Regions from separate parts of the Homo sapiens genome. Here regions 2, 3, 4 and 5 are each linked to region 1. The links are contacts of gene promoters, found by promoter capture Hi-C in blood cells and fetal thymus (Javierre and others, 2016). All regions are on one chromosome and are shown on one strand. The core of a region is centred on a gene start or on the middle of the fragment in contact, and the rest is flanking DNA. Distances in the headings are between cores, read along the strand shown.

What was found. The method cuts DNA at HindIII sites, captures the fragments that hold promoters and counts their contacts. A CHiCAGO score of 5 or more calls a contact.
Region 2: a contact is called between a fragment that was not itself captured here and the fragment with the promoter of AR in region 1, in 1 of 17 cell types (M0 macrophages). The highest score is 5.1, in M0 macrophages.
Region 3: a contact is called between a fragment that was not itself captured here and the fragment with the promoter of AR in region 1, in 1 of 17 cell types (M0 macrophages). The highest score is 5.1, in M0 macrophages.
Region 4: a fragment that was not itself captured here is called in contact with the fragment with the promoter of AR in region 1 in 1 of 17 cell types (M2 macrophages); the score reaches 5.3 in M2 macrophages.
Region 5: a contact is called between a fragment that was not itself captured here and the fragment with the promoter of AR in region 1, in 2 of 17 cell types (M0 macrophages and M2 macrophages). The highest score is 5.2, in M0 macrophages.

Annotation. Positions count from the first base shown.
Region 1 is chrX:67,539,315-67,545,270 of GRCh38, reverse strand. It overlaps AR (androgen receptor), which reads right to left and starts at 1,250. Exons shown (of 8, transcript NM_000044.6): 1 at 1-1,250. The coding sequence starts at 124. The HindIII fragment of the contact is 7,103 bases long and covers 1-3,598 here.
Region 2 is chrX:68,043,934-68,049,889 of GRCh38, reverse strand. OPHN1 (oligophrenin 1) reads left to right here. Exons shown (of 25, transcript NM_002547.3): 24 at 1,433-1,474; 25 at 2,727-5,956. The coding sequence ends at 1,466. Among named protein-coding and RNA genes, the nearest start is that of NXTAR, 260 kb to the right of the region's middle. The HindIII fragment of the contact is 2,882 bases long and covers 2,347-5,228 here.
Region 3 is chrX:68,015,309-68,021,264 of GRCh38, reverse strand. No RefSeq gene overlaps it. Among named protein-coding and RNA genes, the nearest start is that of NXTAR, 230 kb to the right of the region's middle. The HindIII fragment of the contact is 2,272 bases long and covers 1,724-3,995 here.
Region 4 is chrX:67,999,830-68,005,785 of GRCh38, reverse strand. No RefSeq gene overlaps it. Among named protein-coding and RNA genes, the nearest start is that of NXTAR, 220 kb to the right of the region's middle. The HindIII fragment of the contact is 2,890 bases long and covers 2,188-5,077 here.
Region 5 is chrX:67,981,433-67,987,388 of GRCh38, reverse strand. No RefSeq gene overlaps it. Among named protein-coding and RNA genes, the nearest start is that of NXTAR, 200 kb to the right of the region's middle. The HindIII fragment of the contact is 2,313 bases long and covers 2,002-4,314 here.

The DNA of each region.
Region 1 (5,956 bases), core at 1-2,500:
GGTGCCTGGGGCCCGGGTTCTGGATCACTTCGCGCACGCTCTGGAACAGATTCTGGAAAGCTCCTCGGTAGGTCTTGGACGGCGGCCGAGGGTAGACCCTTCCCAGCCCTAACTGCACTTCCATCCTTGAGCTTGGCTGAATCTTCCACCTACTTCCCTTACCCCGCCTCCCCTTCTCTTGCTCAGAAGAGTTCAACAGGCTGTGATGATGCGGTAGTCGCTGCAGCTAGCTGCCCACCTGCGGGAAGCTCCAGAGAAGGAAACTTGCGGGAGCAACCACGCAAAAAGCGCTCTGACAGCCTCAAAGTCTCGTGCAGAAGAAGACACACGGTGGACAAGATCTGCCCTGCTAGGCTCACAGTCTGTCTCTTAATACTTGAAGGGTAGATTCAAAAGATGCCCAGATCTTAAAAGAAAAAAACAAAATCCTCCACCTTCCAAATTCAGTGTCCACTGAAGTAGGTGCAAATAAGAACTGAGTTATTATCTTTTTCTTTTATTTCGGCTTTTTTGTTTTTGTTTGTTTTGTTTTTTGGCTACTGAAGACCTGACTGCCTTTTCATCTTTTGATCTCTGGCTCCGCACTCGGGGTGGGGAAGGCAGGAGGAGGTGGAGAGAGAGTGGGGGAAAACAGAGGGTTCTCTCCGCGTGCAGCCTAACCAGGCGGGTCGTGGCTGCAGTGCTGAAGCCGCTCCCCAGTCGCCTGGCTCCTAAGAGCCTTCTTTGCAATGTGCAGCTAGCTCGCCCGCTCGCAGCCAAAGGGAGTTACCTCTCTGCAAACTCGGGCTGGCAGCGCTGGGCCGACGGGGGCGGGGGGGCGGGTGGGGAGAAGGGTGGTGAGGGGGGTTGGCTGAGAGTAGCCGACTGAGGCAGCTGCGGGAGAGAAGACGGGGGAGGGGGGGAAGGCAGGGTGGGGGGAGGCGGGGTGGAGAGGAGGAGGACAAAGGCAGCCGTCAGTCCTACCAGGCACTTTCCTTGCTTCCTCCGAGTCTTTAGCAGCTTTTAAAAACTTCACCGAAGAGGAAAGGGCAGCTCCGGGCGGCGGCTTCGAAGCCGCCGCGCTGCAAGAGGCGTTGGCTGTCGCTGGAGCCGGGCTGGGGCTGGCGTGGTGCGTCCCTTCGGCTCCTGTACAGCACTGGAGCGGCTAGCTCGGCCCTTTTTCCCTCTGTCGCCTCCTCTGCCTCTGGGCTTGCTCCGGACCGTCCCGCTCTCCCAGCAAGCTGGCTCCCCGGGATCTCGGAGGGGGCGCTGGGAGGTGGAGAGCAAATGCAACAGTTTGCGAGTCGGGTCCCGCCCCCACCGGGCCGGCCTCCTTGCCTTCCCACCTCCTTTTCCCTCCCCTCCCCTTTCCTTTTCTCCCCTCCCCTCACCGCGCGCTAACGCCTGCCTAGTGGCTTTGGAGAAACAAGTGCTGGCGCAGCGTGGGCGAGGGCAGGAGAGGCTAGCTCTAGCCCTGGAGGACCCCTGCTTCCTGAATAGCTCCTGCTTTCCTAAACCAAGGTTTAGGCGCCAGGGCTCCAGATTTCCTGGAGGCCAGCACTCACCAAATTTGGTTCCAAAGCCCAATCTAAAAAACCAACAGGGTGGAGGCGAGGGAGGGAGGAAAAGGACGATAGGAATACCTGCTCCTGGCTGCCAGGGGTTCTTTTCAGGACTGATAAGAGCGCGCAGATGGGAGAGTGGGAGAGTCTCCTACAAACTGAGGAGCAAGCCATGACCAAGCCAGCAGATACTTGCTGAAACCTTAGATTCCGTCATAGGGATAGATCGGGCCTCGTGGCATTGTGCCATTTGCTCTAGGAACCCTCAGCCCCAAGAATCAGAGGTCATTTCTACCCTCTTCTCTGCCTTTCTTCCTGTCTGGAATTGCCTTTAACCATGCATTTCTCATCCAGACTCTCAAAGGCAAAATCACCCAGACAAGCAGGTAAACACACAAACACTAAAAACACTTGCCATGTACACATAGGCGCTCAATTTTGTCCAGAGCTCTGTAAACGTTTGCTTTGTATGCAGCCGCTTGCTTTTCCAAGTTGCCTTCGCATATTTTAAACTTTACAACTGGAACTATCCAAGGATAGAACCTATATAGGGCTGCTTTTCGCCTCTTGATGGACAGCCAGGCGTAGAGGATGATGTGGGTTACTGCAACTGCTCTTTTGTGGAGGAGGTCCCATAAGCCCTGTGTAAAGGTGGAGATGCAAGTGGGAATGGAAAGAGAGAGAAAATGTAAACGTAAACCTATAAGGAAAACATCTTTCCTTTATGTCAGTAGAGACCCTGGGCCTCCCTATGTTTTAAATTCCTTTGACTTCTGATTCTGGGGAGGCTCTCTGTTCCAAAAGTCATTCCGAGATTTTTGCCTGGGTCTCTTTTGCTTTTTGCAGTCTTCTACAGAGAAAAGATGGGTTGTAGCTTTGTTGTAGCTTTATCTTGTGCACAGCCAAACATCATAGGCATTTACTTACCTTGACCAAAGAAGGTAACTCAAACCTAAAGGCAAGGAAGACTGGATATGATAGGCTCTATTTCACAGATGAACAGGCTGAAACAAGGACATAATTTGTTCTATGTTCCACATTAGTAAAACCTAAACTAGTCTTCCAGTCCATTGCTATTTGAGCTAGACTCTAGACTCATCAATCGCATTGTCATTTGGGAAATGGCTATAAATGAACCTTCCAGAACACAAAGGCCTGAAGACCCTTTCACCTGAGGAGGTGAAAAATTATTTCCTGAGATTTTAATGGCTACAGCCTTCCTTGAATATACCTCACCATATGTAAGTAGAATGCGTAGATACTTCAACCTCATTTGAATACTCATTGCAACATTTAATCCCACCACAACTTTCAACTAGCATTGCTCAATAGGAATTGAGTGGGCTGGCAGGATGGTAGAATGGAATTAACATAGGTCTCAGAGCCAGGAGAACTATGTGTCTACACACTAACAGTGAAGGAAGGTGCAAAAATCACTGAATGAACAATGGACAGGAGTGAAGAGGACACATAGACACAAAGAGGCCTGAAAAAAAATTAAGGTGAGAAATAATGCTCTGAAGTTACTCTGAATAAAAAGCAGTCTGACATTCAAACCTGGGTCTGAAAGACTCCAAAGTTTATGTTGCTTCCACATCACCAACATTGTCTTCACAGTTTCCACATCTGAAAACTGTTGCCAATATAAGTTACCCTCAGAAGGCTAGTGTGTCATTTAAAAGACATAATGTGTATAGAACAAACTTGTAAACAGGAAAGCATTCTACAAATCTGAAGGATTACTATGTTATTTTTATTTTTAAAGATGGTGCTGTCAACAATTATATCATTATCAGGAAAGGTTAACTACTATAAGCATATTAGGGCCATATACTTTATTTGGATTTTGAACTCTGATCTTCCAGCTCAAATCTCATTTTCTTCCCATTGCTTTTAAGAACAAGAGACAATTATTGATTAATATTATATAAGTTCACTGTTTGTACCAGCTTTCTTCTTCTTTCTCCTCCTGTTCTTTGCAGTTTTTTAGTAATCAAATGGAACCAGAGGTGTTCTCTCAGATTAGTCAGGTTGAGAGTAAGTTTCTGCTATAAGCTTCCTCTGCAACTTCAAGAGGGATTTATTAATAAAGTCTTCCCTAGCTCTTTGCTCTGGAAAGCCAGGATGAGCTGACCTTTGGAAAATGGTGACCATCGGGTTTTATTTCCTAAGTATCTCACACATCTGCCCATTTATTTCATCTCTGTTGTTGCCAACCTAGTTCACTTCCAGAAGGCACCGTTCTCTTCCACCTGGAGCACTGTAAATGGTCATCCTCCCTCCACTCTTTCCTAGAATCAGTTCTGCATTGTGCAGCCAGAGGGTTTCTTTTTAATAGCCGTACTGAGGTATAATTGATATATACAATAAACTGCACATATTTAAAGTTGCATAAATTGATCATTTTTGACACACGCGTGCACTCATGAAATCATCACTCAATCAAGATAGTGAATATATCTATGATTCCAAAAGTTTTTATTGTGCCACTTTGTACATTTTCCCTCCACCTCTCCTATACTCCTCCTCCTCAGGCAACCAATGATCTGCTTTCTGTCAGTATAGACTGTTTTTCACTTTCCAGAGTTTTATGTCAATGGAACTATACAGCATGTACTCTTTTTTTTTTTTACTTGCATCTTTCACTGAGCACAATGCCTTTGATGTACATTTAAGCTGTTATGTATATCACTAGCTCATTCTTCTTTATTGCTAAGTAGTATTCTATTGCATTGCTGTACCACGCTTTGTTTATCCATTCACTTTTGATGGACATTTGGGTTCTTTTCAGTTTGGGGCTACTACAAATAAAACTGCTATAAATATTTGTATAAACATCTTTGTATGGATGTATTCTTTCATTTCTCTCAGGTAAATACTTAGCCATGGAATGGGTGAGTCACAGGGTAGGTATACACCTACTTTTGTAAGAAACTTCCAAATCATCTTCCTAAGTGATTGTATCATTTTACATTTCCACTTCACCAATACTTGGTATGGTCAGTCTTTTTAATTTTAGTATTCTAATTAGAGGTGTCTTTCCCATTTAATTTTTATTTCTCCCATGAATAAAGATGCAGAGCATTTTTCATGTGCTTATTTTACAATTGTATACTTTCTTTGATGAAGACTGTAAATTTTTTCTCTTTTTTTTTTTTTAATTGGGCTACTTGTAATTTATTATGGGGGTTTTAGAGTTATGTATTCTGAGCACAATTCCTTTATCAGAAATATGATTCAACAATATCTTATCTGTAGTTTGTCTTCATTATCATACCAGTGTCTTTTGAAGCACAAACATTTTAAATTCTGATGAAGTCCAGTTCATCACTTTGTTCACTTATGAATTATGTTAACTTACGGATTATGGTGTCAGATATAATAAATCATTTTCAAACTCAAGATCACACAGATTCCCATCTGTGTTTTCTTCCAGAAGTTGTATAGCTTTCAGTTTTACATTTAGGTCTGTGATCCATTTTGAATTAAGTTTTGTAGACAGATACCCAACTTTTAATATAGATGTCCTATTGTTTTGGCACCATTTTTTGAAAATACTATTCTCTCTCCACTTTGTTGCCTTTGAATCTTTGTCAATAATTAACTCTCAATATATATTTGCATAGAGGGTTTTTTAGAAAGTTTAATCTGGTCATATTATTTCCCCGTTTAAGTCCTGTCACTGTCTCCCCATTGCTCTTAATAGAAAAGTCCAAAACATTAACCATACCCCACATGATCTGCCTCTCTGATCTCATCTCATACACCTTTCCTCCTGTTTTCTGAGATCCACTTACACTGGCCTTTATTCAGGTCCTCCAACGACTCCATAATCCTTCCTGCCTTTGCATATTCTGTTCCCTCTACCTGCAATGTTGGTTCATCCTTCTCTCTATTTATCTAGTTAATGCCTATGCATATCAGCACATCCAGGAAGACTTCCTGAACCACCTAGGCTAGCTCAAGTCCCTCACCCACTCACCTTTTAATATATTTTAATAGCACCCAGTATTTGTTGGAGGACTTCTCACAATCTGTTTTCCTCACTGAACTGTATGTTTCCTAAGAGCAGGAATCATGTTGGTTTTTGTTCATCATTGAATCCTTAGGACTCAGCCTGGTGTGGGACATGGTCATTGTTTAATAAATATTTTTTGAATAAATGAATGGATTTTATTTTCACAGAATTAAAATTCTGTTTCCAAACTGGGAGTTTTGGTTTTGGGGGGTTGCCAAATGCCCTGTGATTTCAGCATATTTAGGTATGTAATAAACCTTTTTTCAACTTATGAGCAAAGTAGAGAATCACTCCAATTCATGCACTGAACGAATATTTGTTAAGCATTTACTATTTGCCAGGCTCTGTGCTAGGCACTTGGAATTCACTGATGAATAGGACACTGTGGACCCTGCAT
Region 2 (5,956 bases), core at 2,538-5,037, 500 kb before region 1:
TAAAGGAGGTGAGAACATTTCAAAGAGGCCCGACAGCTTATGGTTTCAGAAGTTATTAGTGTTCCACTTTGGCTAGAATGTGGGAGTGAAAAGAGGGAAACTTAGCTGGGGGTGAGACCAGAAAGATGGATTGGAGCCAGATCGTGAAGGCATTGTATAACATACTAAGGTGCTTGGTCTTTATACTGCAGTCCATATGCGGATGAGTCATAGAAAGGGGGGAAGAATTTCAAGAATGACAGTCACATTCTGAGCTGACCAAGTTGTAAAAAGATCACTTTGGTAGTGGGAAAGATAGATGGGAGAGTAAAGACTGGAGACCAGTTAAGGAGACTAATTGTCCTGGCAAGAGTTGGGGAAGCCCTGGCCTATGGCATTCCCAGTGGGAATGGAACAGAAGGGACAGATTTGAGAAAGACTCAATAAGACCTTGCTACATTTTCAAACATGGAACATTGATGAACCGAGAAAGAGAAAAGTCTAACTTGGGCACTTAAGTAGATGGTACAATAATTAATCATGGAGAAGCAGGTTTTATGGGAAAGATGCTGAGCTCAATTTTGGACACAGTGATTTTGAAGACACAGTTGTTAAATTTATACAAATTTTTTAAAGACACTTTGAGACTTAGGTAGAGATAGATGTTCAGTGGGTAACTGCAACTTAGGCTAGCAGTTGGAGCTGGATGTATGTATACATAGATTTGGGGGTTAGAAATATGAGTATAGCCACTATATAAGTCTGGGGAGTGGGGCTAGTCACATATGCTACAATGTGAATAGTAGCCTGTTGTGGGGAGGTCCCTAGTATTTGGTGGCAATTGAAGCCATGGATGGGAATAAGATCCTCCAGGGAGTAAGTGTAAACAGACTGGAGAGAAGAGAAAAACAGAAGGTTGAGGACATAGCCCTGGGGACCAGCTGTTGTACGTAATGCTCTGGCCACACTAGAGTGGGTTTCATTTGCCAAGATTTTCTCCTCCCCAAGCTGTCCCCAGACATGGGTAATTTAGAACTAATCCAAGCACATCAAGAGGCTGGACAAGGTTGGTTTGGTCTTCTAGGCAAAGGAGGATTCATCTTTCACATGGTACTTGTCTGTGTCCTCACCCTTATCCCTGTTAGAGATCATCACAGAATGTAGTTCGTGGTCTGCAGCCAGCTTCCCTGGGTTCTCCAAGCTTCACATAGTCTGGTACTCAGAGAATTGTTCTGGCACCTGAAAGATGTCTTCACATCTCTTTAAGCCTGCCAGAGAAGGAGCCCCAACTATAAGCATGGAGCTAAATGTTTTGAAACATCTGGGCTGAATCACTTCTCCATTTTTCAAATGGCCTCTTTAGCACTGGCCTAGAAGTGTCCCCCATTCCCCCAATTTACCTTTCCAGTCCTGATTTCTAGAATCTTAGTGAAACGTCTTTCTTTATCCACAGTTCTCAAGGCAGACTTCCTGGAGATGAAAGTTGAGGCTACAGGTATGCAGTCCCCATCCCTGATTACAAAATCTTGTTCCACATAAGCCTTCATTACGGGATCTGATATTTTGAGGACTGGAATAACATGTAGATCAGAAGGGTGGGAACTCACTTCTACGCCTCAGTTCATTACTCTATCACTGCCTGACCCTTAAATTTAGTGACTTTCAATTCCAAGGTTTTGTGTGATTTTAAGTAACCTTCCTCTTTCATTTCTTTTTCTCCTAGCCAAACTATGGCACGCTTTTACAGATTGCCTTTGAATCAAATTTATTAAGAATCCTAGGCTGTGACATTTTGGGAAAGTACATTTACTTCTCTGAGCCTCAGTTTCCCAGTTTCTAAAATGAGAAGGTTGGAACCTTCTAACTCTGACACCTCTCGGGCCTTTAAGGAAACCAGGAACATGCTTTCTGATATTATAACAGATGCCAAGAGGCTACCTTAGTGTCTGTAGATGGATTCATTCCTGCAGACCAAATCATTATTTCAGTCTTACCCACCTGAACCTTCATTCTTAGTCCTTTATGTTTGTCCAATGCAAAGCACTTTCACATTCATTATTTCATTTGATGCATATCACATGCCAGGAGAAGGGAGGATAATATGTGTTCTAACTCAACAAATAAAGGAACTGAAGTTCAGAGGGGATAAGTGACTTGCAAAGGTCACAGGAGACTCAGAGGTCAGGGAAATTCCTTTCTCTATCATAGGAGTTCTGATTGTTTGACTATCAGATTGCTGGCATGATGTGACCTGATAACACACATAAATGAGATCCAAGTATCTGGAGCTTGGCTTTTCATGTGCTCCCTAACCTTCTTTTTTTCCCTGTCACTGCCAGTCCTCAGAGGTCCGTGGGTAGATAAGCTTCTCCTTATCAGCCCCTATGGAGGTGAAGTCCCTGTTAAAAGGAAGTTTATAGTTATTGTATGACCATAAAGGCAGTGGGCATGATGTGGGAAGAAATCTCAGAGGTTCTAGTATCAGGCTTCTATTTCTCCATGTAGATTTTGGGGAGTTTGAGTTGAGGTCAAAGGCACAAAGTGTCCAGCCCTGGTCATAGCACCATCTTAGGCCTGTTTCATGAGATTTGACTTGTAAGAGCCTTTGCCCAGCAATCCGCTGTTGCTCAGAAGATGAGCTACCAATTATAGGCTTAGCTACCTACCAAGAGAAGCCCCACTGATCAGTGGCTGTTAAGTACTTGACCAGTCCTCGCTAATTCCCTACTCTCTTCTTTCTCTTTCAGGTTTTAAAAGCCTTGGCCTCAGAGGACCCTTTCCAGGTTCTGAAAGAGTCTTTCTTCTTCAAACCTTTGTGTGCGGAGTCATTTTGTGTTGAAGAGCAGCTCCTTCCTAGCCTTGCACTTTCAGACTCTCTCTGGGAGGCCATAAAATAAGGAGCATATGTCCTAGACAGGTGTTTATATCTCCTTTGTATTCTGTCTTCATCCCCTCAGAAGGTCTGTTTTGAGTTCCTATAACACTGTGAAGAGCTGGACTCCCTCAAGCCAGACTCTGCCAAAACCAAGATATCCACTTACCTGAGTTGAAGAGGGGAGCTCAGTTTTCAACTCTTCCCTGAACTTCCTGCTTCCTCAGAGGGCCATTGAACTCTGAGAGATTTGGGGCTAAAGACTGATCTCAGGGGTCTTACCTTGAACTGAAGGCCACTTGAGTTGGGGCCATTGCTTACCTTGGTTGGAAGGGAATAGAAATGTTTGCTGAACATTGGAGAATCTCAACATGTCTCCTACTGAGGATATGGACACTGGTGCCATGTCAGCGCTCTGGTGCTGCAGTATGTTGCCAAGAGCCCGTCTGCTCCTGCGAGGCTATGAGTGGGATGAGTGATGCCCCCACAGCACCTCCATGTGGACTTAGGAAGGTGGCCTTCCTGCTGTTACATGCAGCCACTTAGGACAAATCTGCAAAGCATGTTTTGCATGTAAAAGCCTAGGTCTATTTGGATTATTCTTTCTCCTTTTTTTTGACAGCTTCCTGTCAAGCAATCAAGAAACAAACAAAAGCTGAACACATTTCTTTTTAAAAAAAGGAGACTGTGTTTGGTCCTGTAGGAGTTCTATTTTGGGGTCAAATGCTAGAAAAATTGTTAAGGTGGATTGAGGCCAGGCAGCTGTCACTGCTGCTTCATGTTTGCCTTCTGCACATAAACTCTTTTATCTCCTGAAAAAAGCAGTTCTTAACCCAGTGTCCATGGACTCAGAAACTCCATGATGCCCCTGAGATGGTATGCACAATTCCATGACAATATGCCCTTTCTGGGGAGATAGTCCATAATGTTCTGCTAAATTTCAAATGGGCTCGTGACCCAAAAAAGTCAAGAACCACAGCACTTGAGTAAAATACTCTTTTTACAATCCATATAAGCCCTTGATTGGAAGGGCTTTTCAAAATCATTTAGTCTAACAACTGCCCAGTTTCCAGTCGGGGGAACTGAGGCAGAGCAAGGTAGTGATCACACCAGTACAAGATCTCAGGTCCCAGGCTCCTATGCAAGTTTTTTTTCCCCATTATATCACACTTATCTAGCAAGGGACCTTGTGGTTTGTGGCTTTAGTGGCCATCATTTCTGGGGGTTGGCTTTTACCCTTTTTCTTGAATATTTGCCACCAAGTGAAAAATGTTAGGACATAAACCCTTGCCAGGTCCCTTTCATTTGCTATCTCTATTATTGGAAAGGACCTAAAAATTGGTGTAATGGGGCAGAAATCTGAGGAATGGACATTTCTAATTCCTGTTTGTTGAAGGGAAGTTGCTGGAAAGAGCATCAGTACTTGTTTCTATGCAGATGCCTGGGCCGTAGCTTGTCTGTAGCGTCTGTATAATTATAATGTTGCCCAGTGTGAGGGAAAGAGCTTTCCTACTTGCACTCTTCTACCAAGGCCCTGTTAGTGCACTGATTATAGTACTGACAGATAAACCTAGATAAAGAGATAGAGAGTGAGTACATGCACACTCATGTGCAAACCCACTCAGAGATGCATTTGGAACAGTGCTACTGAAAGGCAGTAGTCATTTTCAAGACTGAATTCCAAACATGGTTTATTGGTGAGTTAGGAACATGTAAGGCCAAGTACACTGAGAGCCTTTTTGAAAGTAATTGAGTGGAAACTTGATGCCATTCTAAATCAAGGCATATCCAGGTGGCCCGGTTGAACTCACTCCACTGTACCCAGTCTCAAAGGCCAGGTTGCTAAGAAACCAGGAGTAAAAGAGTCAAGTGACCATCATTTCACCTGCTGCTTGCCCCCAATAGTAGTCTCTGTGAGGCCTTACTGACCTCACCTAGGAAGTGATTTTTGAGCCCTTGTTTCAGGGCTGTGGCCTCCCTGCTCTATCCTGAATAAAGCAGACAGGTGTGCAGATTTTGGCCATGAAAGCATGGCTAATAGGGCCACAGTCCCTTTAAAGAAACATGGTTTGACTCTGGTTTTCTTGGGGGAAAATACCACAATCACCGATGCAAACATTGGAAGATTATTGAGAGCCCTAGAAAGCTGCTGTGATCCCAGTAGAAAATATGTCCCAGAAATGTCATGAGATTGCTGTGTGTTGCCTGGGACACAGATCAAGGGCCTATCTTGGAGAGCTGGGGACCAGCAGTCTGCCTGGAGGCCAGGGAGCAGTGGCTGAGTAGCTCTGCCTTTGCTCTGGTCTATACCTTAAGAATGCCAAAGAATGAATTTCAACGCCTGCCTTTGGCACTCTGACTTAAAGTGCAAAAAGCTTCTGTGGCGAGGCATGCTATCATGGAATGAGACTGGCTTGCCCTAGGCTTAATGGATGGGCAGTCATTTTGCAGAGGCTATGGGAAGAGGGTGATAATAGAAGAGTGGCAGCTATAGGAAATTATCAACATACCTTGGCCAGCAAGTTAGAGAATCTGGCAATGGATGAACTGAAAGTGATGAACTGGCAGGGATAACAAAGAACCTAACATTTATTAAGCACGTATTTATTAACTGCTCAGTGTTTCATATTCATGCAAGTATTCTCATTTTACAGAGAAAGAAATTATGGCCCAGGGGGCTAAAGTAAACAACTCAAGGGCACATAGAAAGTAAATAAAAGGACTGTGATTTGAATCCAGGCCACTCTTAGCCCATGCTGTTTTCCCTTTGCCACACTGTGGTAGGTGTTTGAACAGAGGCCACATTACTAGAGTTGGCATGACTCTTGACTCTTGCCTGCCTAACAAAATATTGAAAGGCAAACATTTGAAGGAGGGAGGGGGTGCAGGTTCAGTTTATATGGAAATGCAAACTGGGCTGGAAGATATTCCTGAGTTAGGCTTTCTCTTCATATTCAGCTTGCACATTTGGTAATGTTTTTAAGATGATCATCTAATTTTATTTTGTGAAGTGAAGGATTTGTGTTTTAGTTGGCAGTTGTTAAGTCCTTGGCTTGCCATTTTTCAAAAAGTAAAAAGGTCCTCACAGGTGTCTCCATACTTCGC
Region 3 (5,956 bases), core at 1,610-4,109, 470 kb before region 1:
TAGGACCAAATAGGCTAGGTATAGAGGTTAGGATGGGCTTGGCAGGTTGAAGGATTAGCAAGTTAACTAATGCAGATGTAGCTGACAAGTAGGGTACGCGGAGAGAAGTGATAGGAGATGAGACTTGAAAGGAAGCTTTAGGCCTGTCTCTGAAGGGCTTTAAATGCTTGTAGACCACTGGTGCTTAAGAACCAGAGGTGACATGGTTAGTGTAGAGGAACTGCTGTCAAATTTTTTGGTCTCAGGACCACTTTAAACTCTTAAAAATGATTGAGGACCTCAAAGAGGCTTTGTTTTTGTGGTTTATATCTATTGATGTCTACCAAATTGCAAATTAAAACTGAGAATTTTTTGAAAATTAATTAACAATTAACAATAATAGGTCAATGATGTGTTAACATATAAAACATTTTTTGTGGAGAATATCTATATTTTTCAAAAATACGAGATAGTAAAATAAATGTTATTATCTTTGAATTTTCAAAACTGGATTATTGGGCTTAATAGAAAATAACCAGATTCTTGTAGCTGCTTCTGCATTCAATCTGCTAGGATATACTGTTTTGTTTGAAGAAAATGAAGAAAATCTGGCCACACACATTAGTGCTATAAATTTCCCTTTTAACACTGTTTTAGCTGTGTCCCAGAGATTCTGGTATATTGTCTCTTTTTTCTCATTGGTTTCAAATAACTTATTTATTTCTGCCTTAATTTTGTTATTTACCCAGTAGTCATTCAGGAGTGGGTTATTTAATTTCCACGTAGTTGTGAGGTTCTGAGTGAGTTTCTTAATCCTGAGTTCTAATTTGATTGCACTGTGGTCTAAGAGACTGTTATGATTTCAGTTGTTTTACATTTGCTGAGGAGTGTTTTACTTCCAATTATGTGGTTGATTTTAGAATAAGTGTGATGTGGCACTGAGAAGAATGTATATTCTGTTGATTTGGGGCGGAGAGTTCTGTAGATGTTTATTAGGTCCACTTGGTCCAGAGCTGAGTTCAAGTCCTGAATATCTTTATTACTTTTTTGCCTCGTTGATCTGTCTAATATTGACAGTGAGGTGTTAAAGTCTCCCACTATTATTTTGTGGGAGTCTAAGTCTCTTTGTAGGTCTCTAAGAAGTTGTTGTATGAATCTGAGTGCTCCTGTATCGGGTGCATATATATTTAGGATAGTTAGCTCTTCTTGTTGCATTGATCCCTTTACCACTATGTAATGCCCGTTTTTGTCTTTTTTGATCTTTGTTGGTTTAAAGTCTGTTTTATCAGAGACTAGGATTGCAACCCCTGCTCTTATTTGCTTTCCATTTGCTGGGTGAATATTCCTCCCTTCCTTTATTTTGAGCCTATGTGTCTTTGCACGTGAGATGGGTCTCCTGAATGTAGCACACCAATGGGTCTTGACTTTTTATCCAATTTGGCAGTCTGTGTCTTTTAATTGGGGCATTTAGCCCATTTGCATTTAAGGTTAATATTGTTATGTGTGAATTTGATTCTGTCATCATGATGCTATCTGGTTATTTTGCACATTAGTTGATGCGGTTTCTTCATAGTGTCATTGGTCTTTATATTTTGGTATGTTTTTGCAGTGGCTGCTACTGGTTTTTCTTTTCCATATTTAGTGCTTCCTTCAGGAGCTCTTGTAAGGCAGGCCTGGTGGTGACAAAATCCCTCAGCATTTGTTTTTTTGTAAATGATTTTATTTCTCCTTTGCTTATGAAGCTTAGTTTGGCTGGATATGAAATTCTGGGTTGAAAATTATTTTCTTTAAGAATGTTGAATATTGGCCCCTGCTTTCTTCTAGCTTGTAAGGATTCTTCAGAGAGATCTGCTGTTAGTCTGATCCTACTTGGGAAATCCTCCTAGATATTTGAAAGGACTTGGATATTGGGATAAAAGCTGTATCTACTTTAGGGGGCACCCCAAGCTCAGTAATGCTGTGGTTCTTGCAGACTCATAGAGGTACCACCTTGATGATCTTGGAAACAATCTGGGGCAATTATCTGGATTGCTAGGCAGAGACTCTTGTTCTCTTCCCTTACTTTCTCCCAATCAAATGGAGTCTTTCTCTCTGTTCTGAGCCTTCTAAATTTGGGGTTGAAGTGACACAAGCACCTCTGTCACCACCACCACTACGAATGCACTAAGTCAGATCTCAAGCCAGCACAGCTCTGGGTCTTGTCCAAGGCCTGCTCTTACCACTTCCTGGCTACCACCTATGTTTGCTCAAAGTCCTGGGGCTCTATCACCAGCAGGTGGCAAAACTAGCCGGGCCTGTGTTCTTCCCTTCAGGGTGATGAAGTTCCCAAGGCCCCAGGTGGGTCCAGAGGTGCTGTCCGGCAGTCAGTGGCTAGAGTCAAAAACCTTAGAAATCTACCTGGTGTTCTATTGTACTGCAACTGAGCTGGCCCTCAAACAAGACACAGCTCTTCCCACTTTTTTCTCCCCTCTGCAAAGGCAGAGGAGCCTCATCCTGCGGCCACTGCCACCACATGGCCATGCGGAGTACTGCCAGACTACTGCTGATACTCCCTTTAGTCCCAAGGGCTCCCAAGTCAGCTTGTGGTGAATGTTGCCTGGCCTGAGACTCACCGTTCAGGGCAGTAGACTCCCCTGTGGCCCAAGACAGGTCCAGAAATGCCATGCCAGAGTCAAGTACTGGAATCGGGGACCACAAGAACCTGTTTGATGTTCTACCCCCTTGTGGCCAAGTTTGTACCAAAGGTGGAAGACAAAGTCCACTTTACTTTTCCCTCTAGTTTTCTCAAGCAGAAGGAGTTTCACTCTGTAGTCACCAGAGCTGAGAATGTGCTGAGTCTCACCTGAAACCAGCAAGTCTCAGAGGCTCTCCCAAAGCCCTCAACCTAGTATCTGGGTAGTGCTGCTGGTTATTCAGGGCCCAAGGGCTCTTCAGTTAGCAGGTGATGAATGCTGCCAGGACTGGGTTCTTCCCTTCAAGGCAGTGAGTTCCCTTCTGGCCGAGGGCATGTCTAGAAATGTCATCCGGGAGGCAGGGTCTGGAAAGGGGACTTCAGGACTCTGACTGGTGCCCTATCCTGCTGTGCCTAAGCTGCTATCTGATTCAAGACAAAGCTCTCCCCATTCTTCCCTCTCCTCAAGCAGAAGTAAGGGCAGTCTTTTGGAGCCATGAGCTGTGCAGCCTGGGGTTAAAGGACAGTGATGCCAGCACTTTCTTTCTTTCTTTTCTCTTCTTTTCTTTTTTTTTTTAGCTGGAGTCTCCCTCTGTCACCCTGGCTGGAGTGCAGTCACGCAATCTCAGCTCACTGCATCCTCTGCCTCCCAGGTTCAAGCAATTCTCCTGCCTTAGCCTCCTGAATAGCTGGGATTACAGGCATGCACCACCATGCCTAATTTTTGTACTGATGCCAGCACTTTCTTAGCAACCCCAGCTGGTGTCCTAGTATGCCCCCTCCAGTCCACTGTCTCTGGGCCCAGTTCAGCGCTAGGACTTGCTTAAGAGTTTCAGTCCTTGTAGCCTATACTGCCTTTCACGTTTATTTAGAGATCTAGAGCACTTTAACCCTCAGTGGCAAGGTTTGTGGGAACTTGAGTTCGGACCACTGGGATTGGCAATTCCCCTCTGGCTAGGGTTGCTTTAAATGCTCCCTTCACGTGTGGGCATCAGCTGAGTTTGGTCCAGTTTTCCTTTCTGCTCTAACAGGACAGCACTGAGTTGAATGCCTCACAATTGCTGTGCTCTCTCTCCTCCGGCACACAGAAATGCTCTCTGCATCATGCTGCTTCTGTCAGGGGTGGTGCCAGCAATTCAAGACCTTTTTTTTCTGTCTCTTCAGTGCCTCTTTCAGTGATATGAAGTTAAAACGAGGTACTATACTATGAGTGCTCACCTGATTTTTGGTTCTCATGAAGGTGCTTTTTTTGTGTAGATACTTGTTAAATTTGTGTCCTTCTTGTTGTGAAGATCGGTAGAGCCTTCTATTCTACCATCTTGCTCTGCCTCCTGATTCTGAAGCTTGATTCCTTTTTCTCTTTGTAACTTCAAAAATATTGAACTTTCCTCAGGGCTCAATTCTGGGCCCCTTCTACCTCTTCTATAAACAATCTTCCCAAGGACTTCTTACACACTCATGGCTTTAAACAGCCCTTTTTTTTTGCCAACAACTCTTATCGGGGATCCTACCCCATTATTCGTGTAGGTTCTTTCTATTTTCCCTAAGCGTTGGCCAGCTTGAGAAATAAAGGGACAGAGTACAAAAGAGAGAAATTTTAAAGCTGGGCATCCGGGGGAGACATCACATGTCGGTAGGTTCTGTGATGTCCCACAAGCCACAAAAACCAGCAAGTTTTTATTAGGGAGTTTCAAAAGGGGAGGGAGTGTGCGAATAGGTGTGGGTCAGACATCAAGTACTTTACAAGGTAATAGAATATCACAAGGCAAGTGGAGGCAGGGCGAGATCACAGGACCACAGGACTGAGGCAAAATTAAAATTGCTAATGAAGTTTCGGGCACCATTGTCATTGATAACATCTTATCAGGAGACAGGGTTTTGAGATCAACGGGTCTGACCAAAATTTATTAGGCGGGAATTTCCTCTTCCTAATAAGCCTGGGAGCACTATGGGAGACTGGAGTCTGTTTCACCTCTGCAGTCTCGACCATAAGAGATGACCATGCCCAGGAGGGCCAGTTTAGAGACCCACCCCCAGGTGTGCATTCTCTTTCTCAGGGATGTTCCATGCTGAGAAAAAGAATTCAGTGATATTTCTGCCATTTGCTTTTGAAAGAAGAGAAATATGGCTCTGTTCCACCTGGCTCACCAGCGGTCAGAGTTTAAGGTTATCTCCCTTATTCCCTGAACAATTGCTGTTATCCTGTTCTTTTTTCAAGGTGCCCACATTTCATATTGCTCAAACACACATGCTGTACAATTTGTGCAGTTAATGCAATTATTACAGGGTCCTGAGGCAATATACATCCTCCTCAGCTGACAGGATTAAGAGATTAAAGTAAAGACAGGCATAGGAAATAACAAGGGTATTGATTGGGGAAGTGATAAGTGTCCATGAAATCTTTACAATTTATGTTTAGAGACTGTAGTAAAGACAGGCATAAGAAATTACAAAATTATTAATTTGGGGAACTAATAAATGTCCATGAAATCTTCACAATCTACATTCTTCTGCCATGGCTTCAGCCGGTCCCTCCATTTGGGGTCCCTGACTTCCCGCAACAAACTCTCCAATTTCTCTCTCTAGCTCATTCTTATCTTCTGAGCTTCAGCTATACTAATTCAACTACCTGCTTGACATCTCCATCTCATTGTCTCCCTGACATCTCAAACTCAACATATTCAAAACTAAGCTCTTGATTTATTCTTTACTCTCCTAGCCCAAATCTACTCTTCCTTTATCTTTCTTATCTCAGGAAATGGTAGCTCCATCAACCTAATGGTTCATTCCAAGAGCCCTGGAGACCATCTGGACATTTTCCTCTCTCTCATTCACCACTTCTTTTCACGCAAAGTCTATTTAAAAAATGTGCACTCTGTCCTTCCCATGGCTATCATTTAAGCCTAAGCAATCACCATCTCTTGCCTGAACTATTTTAATAGCCTCCTAACTGGTCTCTTCATTTTCTCTCATCTCATCCTATTATAAACTCACCACAGGGCAACCAGATTGACCTTTTAAAAATGTAAATCAGATCATACCACTCCCCTGTTTAAATCTTTTAATGGTTTCCCATTTCACTTGAAATCCAAATCCCTTAAGATGGCCTACAAAGTTCTGCACTATCTCCAGAGATTATCTCTCTAAACTCATCTCACGACCTTATTTTCCTCATACTCAAACTCCAGCTACACTGGCCTTCTTCCTTTTCCTCAAACATCCTATTCTCCTGTTTCCCTCTCAAGATCTTAGCACACATCCTTTTGACTTGGACACTTTCCCTCTATTTCTTTGCATGTGTCACTT
Region 4 (5,956 bases), core at 2,383-4,882, 460 kb before region 1:
CTCTCAACACTCCTATTTAAAATAGTATTGGAAATTCTGGCCAGGGCAATCAGTCAAGAGAAAGAAATAAAGGGTATTTAAATAGGAAGAGAGGAAGTCAAATTGTCTGTTTGCAGATGACATGATTGTGTATTTAGAAAACCCCATCATCTCAGCCCCAAAACTCCTTAAGCTGATAAGCAACTTCAGCAAAGTCTCAGGATACAAAATCAATGTGAAAAAATCACAAGCATTCCTATACACCAATAATAGACAAACAGAGAGCCAAATCGTGAGTGAATTCCTCTTCACAATTGCTGCAAAGAGAATAAAATACCTACGAATAAAACGTGCAAGGGACGTGAAGGACCTCTTCAAGGAGAACTACAAACCAGTGTTCAAGGAAATAAGAGAGGACACAAACAAATGGAAAAACATTTTATGCTCATGAATAGGAAGAATCAATATCATGGAAATGTCCATACTGCCCAAAGTAATTTATAGATTCAATGCTATTTCCATCAAGTTACCATTTACTTTCTTCACATAATTAGAAAAAACTATCTTAAATTTCATATGGAACCATAAAAGAGCCCATATAGCCAAGACAATCCTAAGCAAAAAGAACAAAGCTGGATACATCACACTGCCTGACTTCAAACTATACTACAAGGCTACAGTAACCAAAACAGCATGGTCTTGGTACCAAAACAGATATATAGACCAATAGAACAGAACAGAGACCTCAGAAATAATGCCACACATCTACTACCATGTGATCATCAGCAAACCTGACAAAAACAAGCAATGGGGAAAGGATACCCTATTTAATAAATGGCATTGGGAAAACTGGCTAGAATATGCAGAAAACTGAAACTGGACCCCTTCCTTATACCTTATACAAAAATTAACTCAAGATGGATTAAAGACTGAAACATAAAAACCTAACCATAAAAACCCTAGAAGGAAACGTAGGCAATATCATTCAGGACATATGCATGGTCAAAGACTTCATGACTAAAATACCAAAAGCAATGGCAACGAAAGCCAAAATTGACAAATGGGATCTAATTAAATGAAAGAGCTTCTGTATAGCAAAAGAAACTATCTTCAGAGTGAACAGGCAACGTACAGAATGGGAGAGAATTTTTGCAATCTATCCATCTGACAAAGGGTTAATATCCAGAATCTACAAGGAACTTGAACAAATTTACAAGAAAAAAAACAAACAACCCCATCAAAAAGTGGGCAAAGGATGTGAACAGACACTTCTCAAAAAGTGTCACCTCTCAAAGAGACACCTCTCAAAAAGTTCACTTCTCCTAATGAACATTTATGCAGCCAACAAACATATGAAAAAAAGCTCATCATCACTTGTCATTAGAGAAATGCAAATCAAAACCACAATGAGATACCATCTCAAGCCAGTTAGAATGGCGATAATTAAAAAGTCAGGAAAAAACAGATGATGAAGAGGATGTGGAGAAATAGGAACGCTTTTACACTGTTGATGAGAGGGTAAATTAGTTCAACCATTGTGGAGACAGTGTAGCAATTCCTCAAAAATCTAGAACCAGAAATAACATTTGACCCAGCAATCTCATTACTGGGTGTATACTCCCAAAGGATTATAACCATTCTACTATAAAGACACATGCACATGTATGTTTACTGTGGCACTCTTCACAATAGCAAAGATTTGGAACCATTTCAAATGCCCATCAGTGATAAACTGGATGAAGAAAATGTGGCACATATAAACCATGGAATACTATGCAGCCATAAAAAGGATGAATTTATGTCTTTTGCAGGGACGTGGATGAAGCTGGAAACCATCATTCTCAGCAAACTAACACAAGAACAGAAAACCAAACACCACATGTTCTCACTCAAAGGTGAGAGTTGAACAATGAGAACACATGGACACAGGGAGGGGAACATCACACACCAGGGCCTGTCAGGGGCTAGAAGAGGGATAACATTAGGGGAAATACCTAATGTAGATGATGTGTTGATGGGTGCAGCAAACCACCATGGCACCTGTATACGTATGTAACAAACCTACACATCCTGCACATGTATCCCAGAACTTTAAGTATAATAAATTAAATTTTTAAAAATCTCAGCATTTGCACCTATTTCTGACAAACTAGGTCTTGCTTATAGGATTGTAATGACCTCAGCATTTTGTCCATGTGAGGTCAAGCTTTAATTTTTACAAGATTAAATTTGGGATTAATGATGTGAGGAAAACATAAGTAGCAGGAGGAGTTTGTTAAGGGCAATTTGTCTTTTGAAATATTTAAAAGAACAGCCATTAAATTTTTGTCTAGAGAGTAAAATAAAGAATGACAAGTCCAGCAAAGTATTAGATTCAGAGCAGTAGCTATAGCCTGTGAAAAATATGTAAGTGGGTTTTGCTTTCTCTTAAGTGGTAGGAGATCATAGTGGTTGGAGGTAATAGGATGATGATAAGGGAGATCCCATTAGTATTTTAAAGGATACAAAAGTGGAAGAATAAGACGGATTAGTAGTAGAGGGAAAGGAAAAATGTTGAAGAATCAGAAAATTAATCTTTTTTCATTGTCCTGGGCAGAAACTGTCTATTTCTGAAGTCAGTAGATTCCAGGGGATTCCTAAGAATTCTCAGTTTATGATTTCTAGATGTAATGAATGTTTAGTAGTCTGGAGAAAAAAAATACAGATATTTTTGACCTGTGAAAGATGATGAAGCTAAGAATCTATACCTTGGAGTTTTATTGCTGTGTCAGTTGTTAACAGTATCTGATAAGATCATATTCATCAGGGCTCAAGGGCACAGTTTTCTGTAGTCTTTTCCAAGAAATTGACTCTCAAGGCTGCAGATCATGTAGAAGCTATTTAGGTGACTGTTTTGAAAATGTAGCTTGTACTTGATGGTAAAGGTGGAGGTATCATATGAGTCCCTTGAAGTGATTAATTATATCTGCTTGTAATATCAAATGCATAGTGTGGACCATTATTATTTTATGAGGAGATAACTTGTGGATCCCAGAGGAGGTTAATTTTGTTAGTATATTAAAGGTAATGGTAATACTTTAGGACATGAGAATTCAAGGGTTTCTGAGAGTGTTTTTAATTTCAGTTTTAGAATTCTATTAGTCCTTTCTATTTTTTCTAAAACTGTAGATAAAATAGCGAATATTCTGGTAAAAGGCAAAAATTTATAGAATTTCTTTCTTTCTTTTTTTTTTGAAATGGAGTCTCGCTCTGTCGCCGAGGCTGGAGTGCAGTGGTGCGATCTCGGCTCACTGCAAGCTCCGCCTCCCGGGTTCAGCCATTCTCCTGAGTAGCTGGGACTACAGGCACCCGCCAGCACGTCCGGCTAATATTTTTTGTATTTTTGGTAGAGACGGGGTTTCACTGTGTTAGTCAGGGTGGTCTCTATCTCCAGACCTCGTGATCCTCCCACCTCGGCCTCCCAAAGTGCTGGGATTACAGGCGTGAGCCACCGCGTACGGCCAAATTTATAGAATTTCTTAATAACATTACTAGTAAAATGGGCATCTCTGTCATTAGAGAGATAAATGAGAGTATCTCAGGTTGGAAAAGGAAATTAAACATTTTGGGAAACGGAAGTGGTCAATAAGATAGTAGCTCTCCAGCAAGGAAAAGTTTTAATAAACAAATAATGTCCAGAGAATAAACAAGTAATAACCAGAACCTATTAACAACCTATTTCAGGAGGCATTTATATAAAGTCCTTTTGAAGGTGTTTAATAGGCCCTCAGAAGGTTGTTTTCTGTCCATATTTCACCTCTCCAGTTTTACCAGAATTACGTTGTTGGCAGGTGGGACATATTTTGGAACAAGCTCTGAAACACCTCTAAAATTTCCCCAACAATGATAATTTAATATTGTTGCCAGCTTATCTTTGTTATTATAGGTAATGTCATGAAACATTTTTGCTAAATTCATTTTAAATTATTTGGTGCTATCAGTTGGATATCCTGAGAGAGCCAAATATTATATTGTGTGATGAGTATCTTAACTTTTTTCATTTCCTTTTTTTTAAATCAGAGACTTACCTCTCACAGTTAATAATAACTATTTTGAAAACAACAAAGCACCTAAAAGTACTTCAACTGGTTGTCTTATTTTTATTTTTTTGCTTTTAATCAAGGTTAAAAACTTTTTTGTTTCCAAAGTATTTTAGATTTCCAAATTGGTGGATGTATTGGACTGTTCTTTATAGCATTGCTATAAAGAACTACCTGAGACTGGGTAATTTATAAAGAAAAGAGGTTTAATTGGCTCATGGCTCTTCAGGCTGTATAGAAAGCATGGCTGGGGAGGCCTCAGGAAACTTTCACTCAAGGCGGAAGGTGAGGGAGAAGCAGGCACATCCTACATGGCTGGAGAAGAAGGAAGAGAGCAAAGAGGGGTGGTGCTACACAGTTTTAAACAACCAAATCTTGTGATAACTCACTATCATGAGAACAGCAAGGGGAAAATCTGCCTGCATGATCCAATCGCCTCCAACCAGGTCCCTCCTCCAACACTGGGGACCTCCTCCAGCATTGGGGATTACAATTTGACATGAGATTGGGGCAGGGACACAAATCCAAACCATATCAGTGAACTACTATCTATATAAATATTTATATCTACCATCATCTACTGTCTATGTAAATATTTGCTTTTGATTTCTCCCAGCTTCTAGGCCAGGGTAAAAGTAATTATTTTAGTCATCTGAGATAATTTAATTTCTGGCAATGGCTTATATTTTAAGAGTGAATTTAGGTCTTTCATTGCGGTTTTTAAAATGAGCACAAAAAACTAGGTCAGTGCTATCTAAGGGAATCTCAAAAAAATGATTTCAGACTATGCTAAAAGCACTGAGAGTTAATATAATCATGTAATGACAAAAAGGAACCTCTACTAATTTGGGCATAAAATAACATAGACATTTTATAGAAAAAATCCAAATTCTATTTTTCTTCTTTTGGTACATTATTTATTTAAAAATAATAGCAAAAGCTCTTTTAATAAACCTTTTTTAAATGCATTTAGGCATATTCAGACATAAAAGTATATAAATAGGTAATAAAGTAAAGCTTTATAGCTTTAAATATAATTATCTTCTTGGTAGATTAAAAATAATACCCATAATTAATCTATCATTTGAATGAACCATAATAACTTTTTAAAACTTAAAAAATAAATAGAAAATCACATCTATTTTCTTGTTTTCATACATGTAACTCTCAAGTACTGTACTCAACACAATCAATCATCTACATTAGTTACTATCTTTAATTAAAGTAACCTTTTTTTTTTTTTTTGCCACCACCACTGGTACAAATGCGTGTATGGATGCTGCTGTTCTGCTTCCACTGGTGCTCTGTCCCAGTTGATGTGTTTGCACTCTGCTGCAACACCGTGGATAATGGCATATGCACATGAGCACAGAACCTGCTGCCACTGCCCTAACAAAGTGTTTTGGCTAGCATCTTCCATCGGAGTGCTGTAGCGAGAGGATTAGACACATCAGCCTCTCCAGCACAGCAGGTTCCTAATCTTGAAGGGCCAGAGAACAAAGCCAAGGGCTCAGTACTAGCCCCTCAGTGTTAGAGCGTGCAGCCCAGGAGTGCTCAGCTGAGTCTTGGCCCCCTAAAATTTTCCATAAATGAACCCAATTGACTGAACCCACCTTATACCACAATCAAACATCCAAGGACATCAAAGAAGATAAAAGCAAAAAACCCCATCCAAAGGACAGCAACTTCAAACATGAAAGGAATGTTAGTCCACATAAATGAGAAAGAACCAGTGCAAGAACTCTGAAAACTCTAAAAGCCAGTGTCTTCTTACCTCCAAATGACAACACTACCTTCCCAGCAATGCTTCTTAACCAGGCTGAAATGACTGAAATGACAGACATAGAATTCAGAATATGAATAGGAATGAAGATCATGGAAATTCAGGAGATATTCAA
Region 5 (5,956 bases), core at 1,909-4,408, 440 kb before region 1:
CAGCATGGTTGTTATTTGTATATAGTAGTGCTACTGATTTTTGTATTTGAATTTTGTAACTGAGACTTTACTTAATTCATATGTGAAACCTAGGAGTCTTTTGGAGGAATCTTAAGGGTTTTCAAGGTATAAGATTTTATCTTTGGCAAGGAGAGATAGTTTGATTTTCACTTTTCCATTTGGATGCCCTTCATTTCTTTCTCTTGCCTGATTGCTCTGGCTATGACTTCGGGTACTATGTTGAATAGGAGTTGTGAAAGTGGGCATCCTTATGTTGTTCCAGCTCCAAAGGGGAATGCTTTCAACTTTTCTTCATTCGGTTTGATGTTGGCTGTGGGTTTCTCATATATGGCTTTCCGTTTTTGAGATATGTTCCTTCTATGCCTAATTTGTTGAGGGCTTTTTGTCTTTATCATGAAGAGAGGCTGGATTTCATAAAATCCTTGTTCTGCATCTATTGAAAAATCATATGGTTTTTGTTTTTTAAATTATGTTTATGTGGGGAATCACGTTTGTTGATTTGTGTATGTTTAGTCATCATTGCACACTGGAATGAAGCCCACTTGATCATGGTGAATTCTTTTTGATGTGTTGTTGGATTTTGTTTGCTAGTAGTTTGTTGAGAATTTTTGCATCTATGTTCATCAGGGATCTCGGTTTTCTTTTCTTCTTGTATCCTTTCCTTCTTTGGTGTCAGGGTGATACTGGCTACATTGATTATGGAGGATTCCTTCCTATTTTATCTTTTGGAATAGTTTCAGTAGTGTTGGTAAGTAGCTTGTCTGGTAGAATTTGGCTGTGAATCTATCTGATACTTGGCATTTATTTGTGGGAATATTTTTAATTACTAATTCAATCTCACTACTTCTTGTTTAGCTCAGGATTTCAATTTCCTCCTGATTCAAGCCTGGGAGTGTGTTTCCAGGAATTTATCAATTTTCTCTAGATTCCCTAATTTGTATTCATAGAAGTCTTGGATGATCTTTTGTATTTCTGTGGTATTGATTGTAATGTCTCCATTTTCCTTTCTAGTGGAGCTTATTTGAATTTTCTCTCCTCTGCTTGGCTAATCTAGCTAGTAGTGTATCAATTTTGTTTATCTTTTCAAAACACAAACTTTAAAAAGTTGGTTTTTTGTAATTTTTTTGTTTCAATTCAATTTAGTCCTGCTCTGGTATTATTTATTTTCTTCTGCTCACTTTGGGTTTGTTTTGTTATTTTCTATTTCCATGAGATGTGATGTTAGGTTGTCAAATTGTAGCCTTTGTGTCTTTTTGACATAGGTACTTAGTACAATGAACTTTGCTTTTATCAGTGCTTTTGCTGTATCCCCAATATATTGATAACTCATGTTGCTGTTATCATTGATTTTGAAAAACGTTTAAATTTTCATCTTGATTTCATCACTGACCCAAAGATAATTCAAGAGCAGATTGTTTAATTTTTGTATATTTGTATAGTTTTGAGAGTTCCTCTTGGAATTGATTTCTAATTTTATTCTGCTGTGGTCTGAGAAAGTACTTGATATCATTTTTAAAAAATTTATTGAGACTAGTTTTATGACCTATCATATGACGTATCTTGGAAAATGTTCTATGTGATGATGAGAAGAAGAATGTATTGTCAGGCCTCTGAGCCCAAGCTAAGCCATCATATCGCCTGTGACTTGCAGGTATACATCCAGATGGCCTGAAGCAACTGAAGGATCACAAAAGAAGTGAAAATAGCCATTTCCTGCCTTAACTGATGACACTCCACCATTGTAATTTGTTCCTGCCCCACCTTAACTGATTGATTAACATTGTGAAATTCCTTCTCCTGGCTCAGAAGCTCCCCAACTGAGCACCTTGTGACCCCTGCCCCTGCCCACAAGAGAACAACCCCCTTTGAGTGTAATTTTCCACTACCTACCCAAATCCTATAAAACGGCCCCACCCCTATCTCCCTTCGCTGACTCCTTTTTCGAACACAGCCTGCCTGCACCCAGGTGATTAAAAAGCTTTATTGCTGACACAAAGCCTCTTTGGTGGTCTCTTCACATGGACGTCTGTGACATGTATGTTCTGCAATTTTTTTGATAGAATGTTATATAAATGTTTGTTAGGTCCATTTGTTCTAGTGTAGTAGGACGAGCTGCAGACAAAACATCTCAGACACCGAGCTGTAGAAGGAAGGGCTTTATTCAGCTAGGAGCATTGGCAAGCTACTGCCTTAAAATCCGAGCTCTCCAAATGCACAATTTCGGTCCCTTTTAAGGGCTCGCAACACTAAAGATTTCTCATGAAAGGGTCGTGATTAATTTGAGCAAGCAAGGGGTACATGACAGGGGCTGCATGCACCGGTGGTCAGAGAGAAACAGAACAGGGCAGGGAGTTTCACAATGTTCTTCTATACAATATCTGGAATCTATGAATAACATCGGTTTCTAAGTCATGAGTTGATTTTTAACTACTAGGTTTAGGCCAGGCAGGCCCAGATCCAGTTTTGGGCCTGGCGCCGGGCTGCCTGTCTTTGATTTCACTTCCTTGTTTTTTTCTTAAAACAAGCATTGAGTATAAAACAGTATAAAACAATATAAAACAATATGAGAGTGTCTCTCTCTTCCCTCACTAGAGTCAAGTTTAAGTCCAGCATTTTTTTATTCGTTAATTTTCTGCTTCAATAATCCATCCAGTGTTGTCAGTGGAGTCTTGAAGTCCCCCACTATTATTGTTTTGCTATCTATCTCTTTTCTTAGGTCTAGCAGTATTTGTCCTGTAAATCTGGAACTCTGGTGTTAGGTTTATGTATACTTAGGATTGTTATATCTTCTTGTTGAATTTATTTACTTATCATTATATAATGACCTTCTTTGTCTTTTTTTAAAATTTGAAATCTGTTTTGTCTAATAGATACTTCTGCTTAATTTTGATTTCATGTGTATGGAATATTTTTTTCCACTCCTTTACCTTGGGTCTGTAAGAATCTCTATGAGTTAAGTGGTTCTCTTGAAGTCAGCAGCTATTTGAATTATGGTTTTTAATCCATTCTATCAATCTATATCTTTTAATTGGGGCATTTATACCATTTACATTCAAAGTTAATCTTTATATGTGAGGTACTGTTACAGTCATCAAGTTTGCTATTATGTATGTCCTTTGCTTTTCCCATTGTGTTACTGTTTTCTAAGCCCTGTCATTTTTTATATTGGTGTGTATCAATCTTTCATTTTCATATTTAGAGCTCCTTTGATTATTTCTTGTAGGTTTGGTTTAGTGGTGGCAAATTCCATCAACTTTTTCTTTTCTTTTTTTTTTTTGTCTGGGAAAGACTTTATTTCTTCTTCATTTGTGACACTTAGTTTTGCAAAATACAAAATTCTTGGCTGACAGGTTTTCTGTTTGAAGAGACTGAAGATAAGCCCCCAATCTTTTCTGGCTTGTAAGATTTCTGCTGAGAAGTCTTCTATTTGTCTGCTAGGTTTTTCTTTATAAGTTATTTGTTGCTTTTGTCTCACTGCTTTTAGAATTCATTCCTTTACATTGACTTTAGATAGCCTGATAACTATATGCTTTGATGATGTTTAAGCCACCAAAGACTCTTTTTACAATGTAAAGGTTCTTTTTACAATGTAAAGATTCTTTTTTCAATGTAAAGATTCTTTTTACAATGAATCTGCCAGCAGTTCTCTGAGCTGTTTGTATGTGGATGTCTAAATCTCCAGCAAGACCAGTGAAGTTTTTCTCAATTATTCCCTCAAATAGGTTTTTCAAATTTTGGCTTTTTCTTCTCCCTCAGGAACATCTATGATTCTTAGGTTTGGATGGTTTACAGAATCCCATATTTCTCAGAGACTTTGTTCATTTATTTTATTGTTTTTATTTTTGTCTTATTTGGTTAATTCAAAGAACTTGTCTTCAAGCTCTGAAATTCTTTCCTTTATTTTGTCTAGACTATTGTTAAAATTTTCCCCTGCATTTTGTAATTCCCTAAAACAGTCTTTAATTTCCAGAATTTCTATTTTTTTTTTAAATCGATCTCTTTGGAAAAAATTTTATTCATACTCTGAATTTTTTAATTTTTCTAAAATTTATTTTGGAGGCTCCAATGATCCTCCCACCTTGGCCTCCCAAAGCAATGGGATTCCAGGCATGAACCACTACGCCTGGCCATTTTTTTGATCTCTTTATATTGGTTTTCAGCTATCTGTTGGATCTCCCTGAGCAATTTTATAATCAATCTTTTGAATTCTTTGTCTTGAATTTCAAAGATTTCATTCTGGTTTGAATTCATCACTAGAGAATTTATGTGATCTTCCAGGGGTATTGTAAAGCTTTGTTTTTTCATATTACCAGAATTATTTTTCTGCTTCCTTCTCACCTACATAGACTATTTCTTGTTATTTTTGAAATCATTTTTTTCAGCTGGGGTGTTTTCCCATTGAAGAAGATGTGACATTAATATATATAGTTTATGATCACCTAGGTTAGACTCTGGGTTCTTTCAGTGGAAGTCTGCATAAATTCCTTGGTTATAGAGAATTTTTGTGCAATGGCTTTGTCAGATGCTGCTTGTAGTAGTGATGTACTGGGTGTGACAGCAGATTCACTGTCTCTTGTGGGGTCAGAATGGCAGAGGTCTCACTCCCCAATTGTGTGCACTTTTTCCTCCCCAGTATTTTTTTCCACTAGATTAAACAATTCAGTCTTCAGGCAAGTAGGAGGTGTTCACAAGTAAGAACTGGCTGTAGCTGAAGCAGATGGGTATATTCAATACCCCAATGGTGGGCAAAAGTCCCAGCCCTTACAGAGGTAGCTGGGGGAGCTCCTAGTGAAATGTGCTGCAGTTTTCACAGAAGGAAGGGAGGGAGCCCCCTCAGCTCCACTACCAAGCTGGAAGGAAAGCATTCCACCTCCCCCATCATGCCCCTGTCCTATTGTTCCAGATATTAGATTAGAGAGATATATCTGTCCATCTGAAATAATGCCAACATTCTATGTACATAAAGAGTGGAACTACATCTCTCTTGCAGGCGTGAACCCAGGGGTTATGCCTCCCATGGGGATGCAGTCATCCTGAAGTGCTCCAAAAAAGTTGTCTACAGGTGCACCTGGGCTGAGGTCCTGTGGGAGAAGCCCTAGCTGTGTCTGCAGTGGTGGGCAAGGGGGAGAAGAAGTCACTTTCTCCAAGTCCCTTCATAAGCACTTGGGTTGCTCAACTGCTGAGACAGAACCACAGACTTCCCCACTGAGCCCAGCACTGTGTCTGTGCCTTTGCTGAAAGATACTTTCTACAAGCGAGAAGTTCTGGGACACAGAAAAGCCTGTAGGTAGTCTGGTAAACATAATTTTAAAAATAGAATTTTTAATTTAAAAAAACTGTAGAAACACTGAGAACTAATTTAACTCAAAACTAAATCTGGGCTATTACAAAATTTGAATAATTTAACCTTTGTCCTAAACAAACCAAAATATTATGGTAACTTTTTTTGTAATTCAATTATTGATGAAGTCATATAAAATTTTATCTTGAAATTGAAGTATTTTCTTATGATGTCATAGCTATAGTTATAAAAGCTATCATATAAATACACATGAAAAGCATAGTTCAATCTACTTTTCTTTCTTTCAACAACTTTGACTATCTAAACTAAATATTTCTACTCTATGCACCTAGCAACTGAATGATTTTTAAATCAGTTAATCTTTCAAGCCCTATAAGGGAGGGGAAAAAGAGAAAATAGTATAGAAAAATGAGAGGGAGCCAGCTTTGAAGAAATAGCTAATTATTTGCCTTCTGTAAGGAAAGAGAAGAAAATTTAGATGCAATAAAAGATACTTTGATGCATATGCATAAAAGAGAGAGTATCATACACATTTTGATATAATTTGGGTCCTTGACAATTTTATCAAGTTGTATAATAAAAAAGCCTGTACTTATTAAACCTCAAAGTATGAAAACAACAAAGAAGGGGATG